2 separate regions of the Homo sapiens genome follow, and region 1 is linked to region 2. Evidence: promoter capture Hi-C in human tissues and cell types (Jung and others, 2019). All regions are on one chromosome and are shown on one strand. The core of a region is centred on a gene start or on the middle of the fragment in contact, and the rest is flanking DNA. Distances in the headings are between cores, read along the strand shown. Region 1 overlaps LOC105371143 (a long non-coding RNA gene). Region 2 holds the start of COG7 (component of oligomeric golgi complex 7).

Evidence for each region. Contacts are between HindIII fragments. The study calls those that stand out against the background at their distance.
Region 1: a fragment that was not itself captured here is called in contact with the fragment with the promoter of COG7 in region 2 in 1 of the 25 tissues and cell types used here (lymphoblastoid cells).

What each region holds. Positions count from the first base shown.
Region 1 is chr16:24,489,087-24,494,673 of GRCh38, forward strand. All of the region lies in intron 1 of LOC105371143 (a long non-coding RNA gene), which reads right to left. Among named protein-coding and RNA genes, the nearest start is that of RBBP6, 48 kb to the right of the region's middle. The HindIII fragment of the contact is 4,487 bases long and covers 1-3,506 here.
Region 2 is chr16:23,451,032-23,456,358 of GRCh38, forward strand. COG7 (component of oligomeric golgi complex 7) reads right to left here and starts at 2,158. Exons shown (of 17, transcript NM_153603.4): 1 at 1,795-2,158. The coding sequence starts at 1,963. It overlaps LOC124903667 (a long non-coding RNA gene), which reads left to right and starts at 1,712. Exons shown (of 2, transcript XR_007065030.1): 1 at 1,712-2,234; 2 at 4,439-4,758. RefSeq lists enhancers at 1,818-2,147, 2,438-2,487. The HindIII fragment of the contact is 22,477 bases long and covers 1-5,327 here.

The DNA.
Region 1 (5,587 bases), core at 13-2,512, 1.0 Mb after region 2:
CTATCATCTGTAACATCTTTGGTTCTGTTTCTATTGGATGATTTTTTTTTCACGATTGGGTCCTACTTTTCTGCTTCTTTGCATGCCTGGTAACTTTTTACTGGACTTCAAACATTATGAATTCTACATTGCTGAGTGCCGACATTTTTTATATTCCCATAAATATTTGGGAGTTTTGTTTTAGCATGCATTTAAGTTATGCGAAACAGTATGAAACTTTCAAGGCTTGCTTTTCAGACTGTTAGCCAGGTCCAAAACAGCCTCTAGTCTAAAGTTAATTTGGCCACCAGTGAGACAATATCCTTCTCAGGACTCCATTCAATGTCCCATATATGAGGAGGCTGATATGGTTTGGATATGTGTTTCCTCCAAATCTCATGCTGAAATGCAATCCCCAGTGTTGGAGGTGGGGCCTAGTGGAGGTGTTTGAGTCACGGGAGCAGATCCCTCACAAATGGCTTGGTGCACTCCCCGTGGCCATGAAAAAGTTCTCACTCTGTTAGGTCATGCAGAAGCTGGTTGTTTAAAGGGGCCTGGCATCTCCTCCTCTCTCTCTTGCTCCCTCTCTCACCATGTGATGTGCCTACTCCCTTTTTACCTTCCGCCATAACTGAAAGCTTCCTGTCACCAGAAGCTGAGCAGAGGCTGGTGCCATGCTGCTTATACAGAATCCTGAGAATCCTGAGCCAAATAAACCTCTTTTCTTTATAAATTACCTAGCCTCAGGTATTCCTTTGGAGCAATGCAAAATGGACTCATGGAGAGGTCTTTCCTTTCTGGTCAGTAAGAACACAATTCCCGATCCTATGTGAGCTCCACCTGGTCCTTCTTGGTGGTCTTTCCTTGGCCTCTGGGAGTTTCTTCACAGGCGTGTACTGATCAGTACTCAGCTAAGAAATGGAGGGGAATGCTCTAAACAGCTCCAAAATCCTTTCTGTGTGGTTCACTCCCTTGCCTTGGCCTCCCCAGACTCTCAATGCAGGGACACTGTCGTATTCTGTTGTGTTTCTCCTCTCTGCATCAAGACCTGTGGCCATCAAAAGACTTAGCTATTTCCTTTCTTTCAGGATCTCTGTATTGTGCTATCTGTGGTTCAATGTCCGGAAATTATTGTTTCATATATGTCATCGGGTTTTTGAGTTGTTTAAAGCAAGAGAGTAAATCTGGTCCCTCCCAGTCTGCCATGGTTGAAAACTGAAGTCTCTGAAGCCAGGATCTGAACCCAGGGAGACTGACTCCTCAGCTTCCTCCCCATCCCTTATCAATCCTTCAGTTCCTTCTCGTGTTTATTCAAATGTCACATCACTACTGAGAGGTCTTTGCACACCACCTCAGCCCCAGCTGCACTCCCTGTCCTCCCTGTTTCCCTCCAAGGAATGAAAGCTCCACAAGGGCAGGGACTTTCGCTTTTGATCCTAAAGACTGAGGTCCGGCACGTGGCTCACACCTGTAATCCCAGCACTTTGGGAGGCTGAGGCAGGTGGATCACCTGAGGCCAGGAGTTCGAAACCAGCCTGGCCAAGATGGTGAAATCCAAAATACAAAAAAATTGCTGGACATGGTGCCACATGCTTGTAATCCCAGCTACTCAGGAGGCTGAGGCACAAGAATTGCTTGAACCTGGGAGGCAGAGGTTGCAATGAGCTGAGATCGTGCCAATGCACTCCAGCCTGGGTGACAGAGTGAGACTCTGTCTCAAAAAAAAAAAAAAAAAAACACTGAGGCTTTGGTCCCATCCCCCAGGAGCCTGAACTGCATGTTAGAACAGAATCTTGAGCTTATGACATATTCAATACATGATTTTTAAATGAATACATAGCATCCTCTGCTCTCCATGCTAACATGCAGGTCAGGTTTACTTAGTGTAAGCAGATAGGGAGGGTCTCCAGAGATTACAAGAATTTAATGAACTTGAGCAATCAGCCTGTTTTATAGCCTCCTGCCCTGAAGTCCTTTTCTTCCTAAACCTTGTATGGAATGCAGTCACCTAATCAGTTAAAACCAGCTCCTGGCAGACTCCCACAACTTACAGATGAACCCAAGTGAACATTCCTCATTACCATGCTAAAGTCTCCACCCCCAGAGGAGCTATAGCTTCATTACCTTAACATGCAACCTATGTGCTGGCATGATAGCTCAGCGCATCTGCACAACTGAGACCCCACTACACGCAATGCTGCACCCTCTCCCTTCTCTATTACCCCATAAAACTCGCCTATCACTTTCCCTTGGGAAGACACTGCTTTGGAGAATACTCTCAATGTTCTCCTTTACTTGTATCAAGTAATAAAACTCCTATTGATCCAAACCTACATCCCTATAAAGAGTCTTTGTTACTTGCCTGATGAAGAACCCCAGTTTTGTTTTGTTTTGTTTTGTTCTTTGGGATGGAGTCTCGCTCTGTTGCCCAGGCTGGAGTGCAGTGACGCGATCTCAGCTCACTGCAAGCTCCGCCTCCCGGGTTCACGCCATTCTCCTGCCTCAGCCTCCTGAATAGCTAGGACTACAGGCGCCCACCACCACACCTGGCTAATTTTTTGTATTTTTAGTAGAGATGGGGTTTCACCGTGTTAGCCAGGATAGTCTCGATCTCCTGACCAAGTGATCCACCCACCTCAACCTCCCAAAGTGCTGGGATTACAGGTGTGACCCACCTCACCTGGCCAAGAACCCCAGTTTTTTAGAACAACATTAGCATCTGTGCTCTAGAAAACATCCCACAATGGGCAAACCAAGGACAGATTCTCCACTAAAAGAGAACAAAGCTCATTTCCCCAGGAGAGATTAAGTTGGAGCTGGACACAAATAGCCCTGGGCCTTACAGCCATCTTCTGACATTAGTCACGGGAGTGAGGTCACCCCAGAACACAGAGGTTCAGAGCTCTAGAGCTCCACTGTCCATTGCAGTATCCATGGGCACATGTGGCCATTGGGCACTTGAAATGTGGTCAGTCTGCATTAAGTTGGGATCATTAGTATAAATTACACCCCAGTATTTTAAAAAACTTTAGTATGGAAAAAGAAAATAACGATGTTTTATATTAATAGCACACTGAAGTAACAGTAATTTAGTCATATTGGGTTAAATAAAACATTATGAAAATTGTCAGCCGGGTACAGTGGCTCACGCCTGTAATCCCAAAACTTTGGGATGCCGAGGCAGGCGGATCACTTGAGGTCAGGAGTTTGAGAACAGCTTGGCCAACATGGCAAAACCTCCTCTTTATTGAAAATACAAAAATTAGCTGGGCGTGGTGGGGGGCACCTGTAATCCCAGCTACTCTGGAGGCTGAGACACGAGAATCACTTGAACCCGTGGTAGGGGGTTGGAGGTTGCAGTGAGATGAGATTGTGCCACTGCACTCCAGCAGCCTAGGCAATAAAGCGAGACTCCGTCTCAAAAAAAAAAAAAGAAAAAAAAAAAAGAAAATTGTCATGGGTGTCTTTTATTTTTTGGTTGGAGTCAGTGGTGTGATCATATCTCACTGCAGCCTCAGCCTCCTGGGCTGAATCCATCCTCCCACCTCAGTCAGCTAATTTTTTTTTTTTTTTGAGACGGAGTCTCAAAATTTTTTAATTTTTTGTAGAGACAGGTTTTGCTATGTTTTCCAGGCTGCTCTCAAAATTCTGGCCTCAAGTAATCTGCCCTCCTCGGCCTCCCAAAGTGCTAGGATCACAGGCGTGAGCCACCGTGCCTGGCCTCATATTTATTTATTTATTGAGACAGAGTCTCACTCTGTCACCCAGGCTGGAGTGCAGTGGCACGATCTCGGCTCACTGTAGCCTCTGCCTCCTAGGTTCAAGCGATTCTCCTGCCTCAGCCTCCCAAATAGCTGGGACTACAGATGTACGCCACCACCCCCGGCTAATTTTTATATTTTTTTAGTAGAGATGGGCTTTCACCATGTTGGCCAGGTGGGTCTTGAACTCCTGAGCTCAGGCAATCTGCCCACCTCCACCTCCCAAAGTGCTAGGATTACGGGCTTGAGCCACCATGCCCAGCTATTTATTTATTTTTGTGGAGACAGGGTCTCACCATTTTGCCTAGGCTCATCTTAAACGGCTCAAGCAATCTCCCACCTTGGCATCCCAAAGTGCTGAGATTACAGGCATGTCCCACCACGCCGGCCTCTCTTTACCTTTCTAATGTGGCTAGCAGAAAGTTTAAAATTACATGTGTGGGTCAGATGACATTTCTCTTGGGCAGCACTTCCCTGGACAGGCAGTGTATCCCAGAAAGGCAGACCTGGGCTAGCCACAGAATCTTCAACCCCATCCCCAAGACTTGAGGCTGACAAGAAGTAAAACAAAGTGAAGGTGGAGGAGATGAAAAATGGGATGCAAAGAAACAGATGTGATATAGTCCATCTTTCTCTCTCTTTTTTAAAATATAGACTGGGTCTCACTGTGTTGCCCAGGCTGGTCTCAAACTCCTGACCTCAAGCAATCCCCCCAACCTCAGCCTCCCAAAGCACTGGGATTACAGGTGCAAACCACCATGCCTGGCCATCTTTTTTTATTTTTTAATTGTGATAAGAACACTAGGGGCCAGGTGCAATGGCTCACACCTGTAATTTCAGCACTTTGGGAGGCCAAGGCAGAAGATCGCATGAGGCCAGGAGCTCAAGACTAGCCTGGGCAGCATAGCAAGACCCCCATCTCTTAAAAAAAAAAAAAAAGAAAAAAGAACACAACATGAGATCTCCTCTCTTAACAGATTTTTTAAGTGTCCAATACATTCCTGCTGACTATAGGTAAATGTCATACGGCAGATTTCTAGAGCTTATTCATCTTGCTTGACTGGAGCTTTCTGCCCATTGATTAGTAACTCCCCATTTTGCCCTCCCCCAGTCCCTAGCAACCACCATTCCACTCTTTGATTCCGTGCATTTGACTATTTTAAATCCCTCCTATAAGTGGAATCATGCTCGGTACTCTGACGCCCTTTCCCGCTCACTCCTTCCCCACCCCGTCCTCTAGGCAACGCAACATGAGTCACCTACTCATTGCCTTAGGGAGAAAGTTGTCACCATAAAACCAGAGAACAATAGAAACAAATGCTTAGTTTTTAAAATCAAAAGTCAAAGACAAAGTCATAATCCAGACTGGGTAAAACCCCCTTGATACATCAGTGTTGTGTGGGGAAAAATAAATTTAACAAAAACCCACAGGCTTTATCCGTTTCCAATATCAAGAAGGGTCCCCAGGGCAGAAACAGAGTTGGACTGGGAACCAAGTTGAGTGCTTGGTGAAAATCAAGCCGCCATGTACCATGCCCCCCTCACCTGTGACACCATCAGAAGGTCACATAGGCTGGGAGATAAGAGCCTAGCCTTGGCCAGGCACAGTGGCTCACTCCTGAAATCCTAGCATTTTGGGAAGCTGGGGTAAAAGGATTGCTTAAGTCCAGGAGACCAACCTGGGCTACATAATGAGACCCCTTCTCTACTAAAAATAGAAAAATTAGCTGGGCATGGTGGTGGGTGCCTGTAATCCCTACTCAGGAGCTGAGGCACCAGAATCCTTTGAACCTGGGAGGCAGAGGTTGCAATGAGCCACGATCACACCACTGCACTCTAACCTGGGT
Region 2 (5,327 bases), core at 908-3,407:
AAAAATACAAAAATTAGCCAGGGGTGGGGCACGCACCTGTAATCCCAGCTACTCAGGAGGTAGAGGCAGGAGAATAACTTGAACTCAGAAGGGGGAGGTTGCAGTGAGCTGAGATGGCGCCACTGCACTCCAGCCAGGGGGAAAGAGCGAGACTTCGTCTCAAAAAAAACAAAAAAACAAACAAAAATGGGAACATCTCTTGGACTATCCACTCCCAGTGGAAGCAGTCTGTTTGGTCTTTCCATCTGAGCCTAGGAGAGAGACTTGTGTGCAGTACGTACTGAATCAACACACAGTGAATCAACACACGGTGAATAAAAGTCAAGTTGAGGAGTTACATGAAATGGTTGCCAGTGCATGTTATTTTTTATAATTTAACTTATCCTCAACAAATGGTTTAGGCCAGGCGTGGTGGCTCACACCAGTAATCCTAGGGCTTTGGGAAGCCAAGATGGGAGGATCACTTGAGGTCAGAAATTTGAGATCAACCTGGGCAACATAGTGCGACCTTGTCTCTAAAAAAAAATTTTTTTTTTTAATTAGCCAGGCATGGTGGCACATGCCTATAGTTCCAGTTACTTGGGAGGCTGAGGCGAGCGGACTGCTTGAACCCAGAGTTTGAGGCTGCAGTGAACTATGATGGTATCACTGCATTCCAGCTTGGGCAGCAGAATGAGGAATGAGACCCTGTCTCAAAAAAAAAAAAAAAAAAAAGGTTTAAGTCTCCACTGAGACCAGCCTATCTTCCTCAGCTGAAATAAAATCCACTAAAACAATGTTTTCTAGATCTGTGTCATTCTCTTATACCTATACTATAATACGTTTTTTCCAGATATATGGATCTGTTGGCTATTCTTTCATACTCTCAAAATTCACTTTTTTTTTCTTTTTACAGTTTATTGTTTGGTACAAAACAGGCTCTTTAACTCTTTGAATAAACACCTCACAGACTCGTGCTCCTAGATTACAAAAAGTCAAAGCCAATTTTCTTTGACACTGGGCTCTTGACTCTGAGATTCAAGTCACTATAACAGAAACTGGAGTTGTTTTATCTTATATTCTGGAAGGTGCCTCAACAAAGACATGTTAAGAACTGGTTAAAACTTCTAGCATTTAAAAAGATCCATCTTGTCTTCCAGTGCCTATGGATAATAATAAAAAGGGAATCCCAGAGATCTGCTATTGAATTATTTAGAGAAGAGCTACTGCAATAAGATCCACTCTTTTAAGTTCCAAAAGGAAACTTCAGGCCAGATGTGGTGGCTCACAGGTATAATCACAGTACTTTGGGAGGCCAAGACTGGAAAACCCATTATGCCCAGGAATTTGAATTTGAGACCAGCCTGGCAACACAGTGAGATCCCATCTCTACAATTTTTTTTTTAAACAGAATTTGTGGGGCGCGGTGGCTCGCGCCTGTAGTCCTAGCGACTCGAGAGGCGAGAGGATCGCTTGAGTGCAGGAGTTCGAGGCTGCAGTGAGCTATGATCGAGCCACTGTAGAGAGACCCTGTTTCAAAAGAAAAAACAAAGAGAAAGAAAGAAAAGAAAAAGGAAACTTATAGCCCAGCCAGAGGAGGAAAAACAACACCCAAAATTAGCAAGTGTTCAAGACAGCCCGGCACCCAGCTGAGACTCCCGCTGACGTGATCAGGAGTTCGGGGCTTGCTCTTTTGCCGAGGGTATTTGCTGTCCATGCGTGCCCCGCCCACCTGAGTGCCTCACGCAAGTTCGGTGACCTCTGCCCAGCCGAGAGCAGGGGAGGGTCCCGCGGCCAGGGCCCCGAGCGGCTCACCCTCCACGGCGTGGTTCACCTCTTGGATGAACAGCTGCAGCTTCATCACCAGGGTGGCTGCGTGGCCATCCGCCTTCCCGGACGCCGCCTCCTTGGAGCCGGCCCTGAAGGCCGCATTGATCCACTCCTTCACGTCGAAGTCGTCTGCCAGGAACTTGGAGAAGTCCATGGCGGAACTGCCTCAGGCCTGGCGTCCAGAACTTAAGAGTTGGCTCCGGGCGGCAACGGGGATGCAGAAGCGAGCGAGCCTGCGAGAGCACCGAGGCTAGCCTCCGAGGCGAACCCCAGAAACGCCAGGACGGGTAACTTGCCCCTTTGCGCTTCCCCGCTCAGCGCACTCAGTTTGCGGCTGGGAATGACCCTCGCCGCCCGCCGTTCTTCTTCCGGAAGTCGTTGGCCGTTACCATAGTGACTGCAGGCGTCCGGAGCGCTGAGCAGAGGTGGGTGTGGGAAAACGCCCCGGACTGAGAGCTCCCGGCACCGACAAATATCCCATGTCTGCTAACATTTGCCGAGGACTAAACTATATGCTTACTATAAAGCCCTGACATACATTAGCGCATTTACGCGGTGGCTCGCGCCTGTAATCCCAGCTCTTTAGGAAGCTGACGCGGGAGAATCGCTTGAGGCCAGGAGTTCTAGGACAGCCTGGGCAACAGTGGAGCGCAGTGGGCAGCAATGGAGTGCAATTGAACGATCTCTGCTCACTACAGCCTCAAATTCCTGGGCAATTGAACGATCTCAGCTCACTGCAGCCTCAAATTTCTGGGCTCCAGCGATCCTCCCACCTCAGCCTCCAGAGTAGCTGGGACTACAGGCGCGCGACAACACGCCCGGCTATTTCTTTCTTTTTCTTTCTTTCTTTATTTTTTTCTGAGACGGAGTCTTGCTCTGTCGCCCAGGTTGGAGCGAAGTGACGCGATCTCGGCTCACTGCAACCTCCGCCTCCCAGGTTCAAGCGAGTGTCTTGCCTCAGCCTCCCGAGTAGCTGGGATTACAGGCGCGTGCCACCACGCCCGGCTACTTTTTGTATTATTAGTAGAGATGGGGTTTCACCACGCTGGCCAGGCTGGCCTCAAACTCCCAACCTCAGGTGATCCGCCTGCCTCGGCCTCCCAAAGTGTTGGGATCACAGGCGTGAGTCACCGCGCCTGGCCTAACTAATTATTTTCTTAATGATGTGTTTTGAGGTGCAGACCTTTTAAAGTTTGTTAAGTTCCTTATCACCTTTTTTTATGGATCATGCTTTTGGTGTTGCGGCTGAGAAATCTGTGCATAACCCATAATCACAAACAATTTCTCAGCCTGGGCAACATAGGAAGACCCCGTCTCTGCAAAAAAATTAAAAATTAGCTGAGTGTGGTGGCGCACACCTGTAGTCTCAGCTACTCGAGAGGCTGGGGTGAGAGGATTGCCTGAGCCCAGGAGGTCGAGGCTGCAGTGAGCTGTGATCACGCCACTGCACTCCAGCCTGGGTGACAGAGCGAGACCCTGTCTCGAAAAGAAAAGAAGAAAAGGTAGGGGAAGGTATGAGGGTATTCTTTAGGTTCTAAGTTTTTATGTTGTTTCAAGAGTGGGACCAACCCAAGGGGGAGGACAAGATGTCATCCTTGGAAACCCTACAGGGGACAGTTTTCCAGGTTGGCCTGCCATTGGGGTATGAGTGGCTGGCTGCCATCTCCAGGCCTGATAGTCACTCGTTTTTCATTGGCATCTCCCTTGGTTTGTCTCATTCTTCTGGGTTGAGTAGGTTTTAACTGGGGTAACCCTTCTGCTAGGAGTCCCAGTTATTTGGGGGGAGGGGAGAGGAGGGAAGGAGAGAGGAGGGGAGCAATGCAGGGAGGGGAGACGAGGGGAGCAATCTGATAGTGTAAGTCCTCTTACTTTGCTCTTGTTAAAAATTTAGGCAGGACACAGTGGCTCACGCCTGTAATCCCAGCACTTTGGGAGGCCGAGGCAGGCAGATGATGAGGTCAGGAGTTTGAGACCAGCCTGACCAACATGGTCAAACCCCATCTCTACTAATAATAAAAAAATTAGCTGGGCATGGTGGCACGCGCCTGTAATCCCAGCCACTCAGGAGGCAGAGGCAGGAGAATCGCTTGAACCTAGGAGGCAGAGGTTGCAGTGAACCGAGATCCGCCACTGCACTCCAGCCTGGGCAACAGACCGAGACTCCATCCCCCCCAAAAAAAAAAAAAATCCTGCTGGGATTTTGACAGGGATTATGTTGAACTGTTGAATTGTTGGATTAATTTTAGGAGAATTGCCATCATGACAATATTGACTGTTCCAATCCATAGCATGAAACGCCTCTTCATTTATTTAGATGGGAATTTTTCAGCCTTGGCACTACTGAGCCCAGATAATTTTTAGTTATGGGGGCTGTCCTATGCATTGTAAGATATTTCGCAGCATCCCTGGCCGCTACCCATTAGGAGCAACATCCTCTCCAAGTTGTGGCAACCAAAAATCTGTCCACACAGTGCCAAGTGTTCCCTAGTAGGAATCACCCCTGGGGATTTAGATCTGATTTAGATCTTCTTTAATTTCTCTCAGCAATATTTTGTAGTTTTCATTGTATAATACAAGTCTTGCACTTATTTTGTTAAATTTATTTATTTATAAGTATTTCCTTTTCTAGGTGCAGTGGCTCATGCCTGCAATCCCAGCACTTTGGGAGGCCGAGGCAGGAGGATCACAAGGTCAGGAGTTCCATACAAGACTAGCCTGCCCAACATGGTGAAACCCCGTCTCTACTGAAAATACAAAAACAGCCTGGCGTGGTTGTGTGCACCTGTAATCCCAGCTACTCAGGAGGCTGAGGCAGGAGAACTGCTTGAACCCGGGAGGCAAAGGTTGCAGTGAACAGAGATCGGGCCACTGTTATCCAGCCTGGGTGACAGAGTGAGACTCCATCTCAAAAAATAAATAAATAAAATAAGTATTTCCTTTTAATGCTAACATGAATGGAATTTTCTTAATTTTCATAGTTTCTTGTTACAGAAAAATGATTTTGTGTGTGTGTGTGTGATGGAGTCTTGCTTTGTCACACAGGCTGGAGTACAGCAGGGCAATCTCAGCTCACTGCAACCTCCGTCTCCCAGATTCAAGCAATTCTCCTGCCTCAGCCTCCCAAGTAGCTGGGATTACAGGCATGTGTCACCACACCCAGCTAATTTTTGTAGAGACGAGGTTTTGCCATGTTGGCCAGGCTGGTCTTGAACTTCTGACTTCAGGTGATCCACCTGCCTCAGCCTCCCAAAGTGCTGGGATTACAGGCGTGAGCCACCACACTCAGCAACAATTGATTTTTATAGATTTATCTTGTACCATTTGACTGTTAAATTTGTCTTCTAGTTTGTGTGTTGGGGTGTTGGTTGGGATTTGTTTACATACAGGATCATGTCATCTGTGAATAGACACTTTTTCCTTTGCAATTTTTTTTTGGGGGGGCGGGCGCGGGGGGACGGAGTTTTGCTTTTTTTGCCCAGGCTGGAGTGCAATGGCGCAATCTCGGCTCACTGCAACCT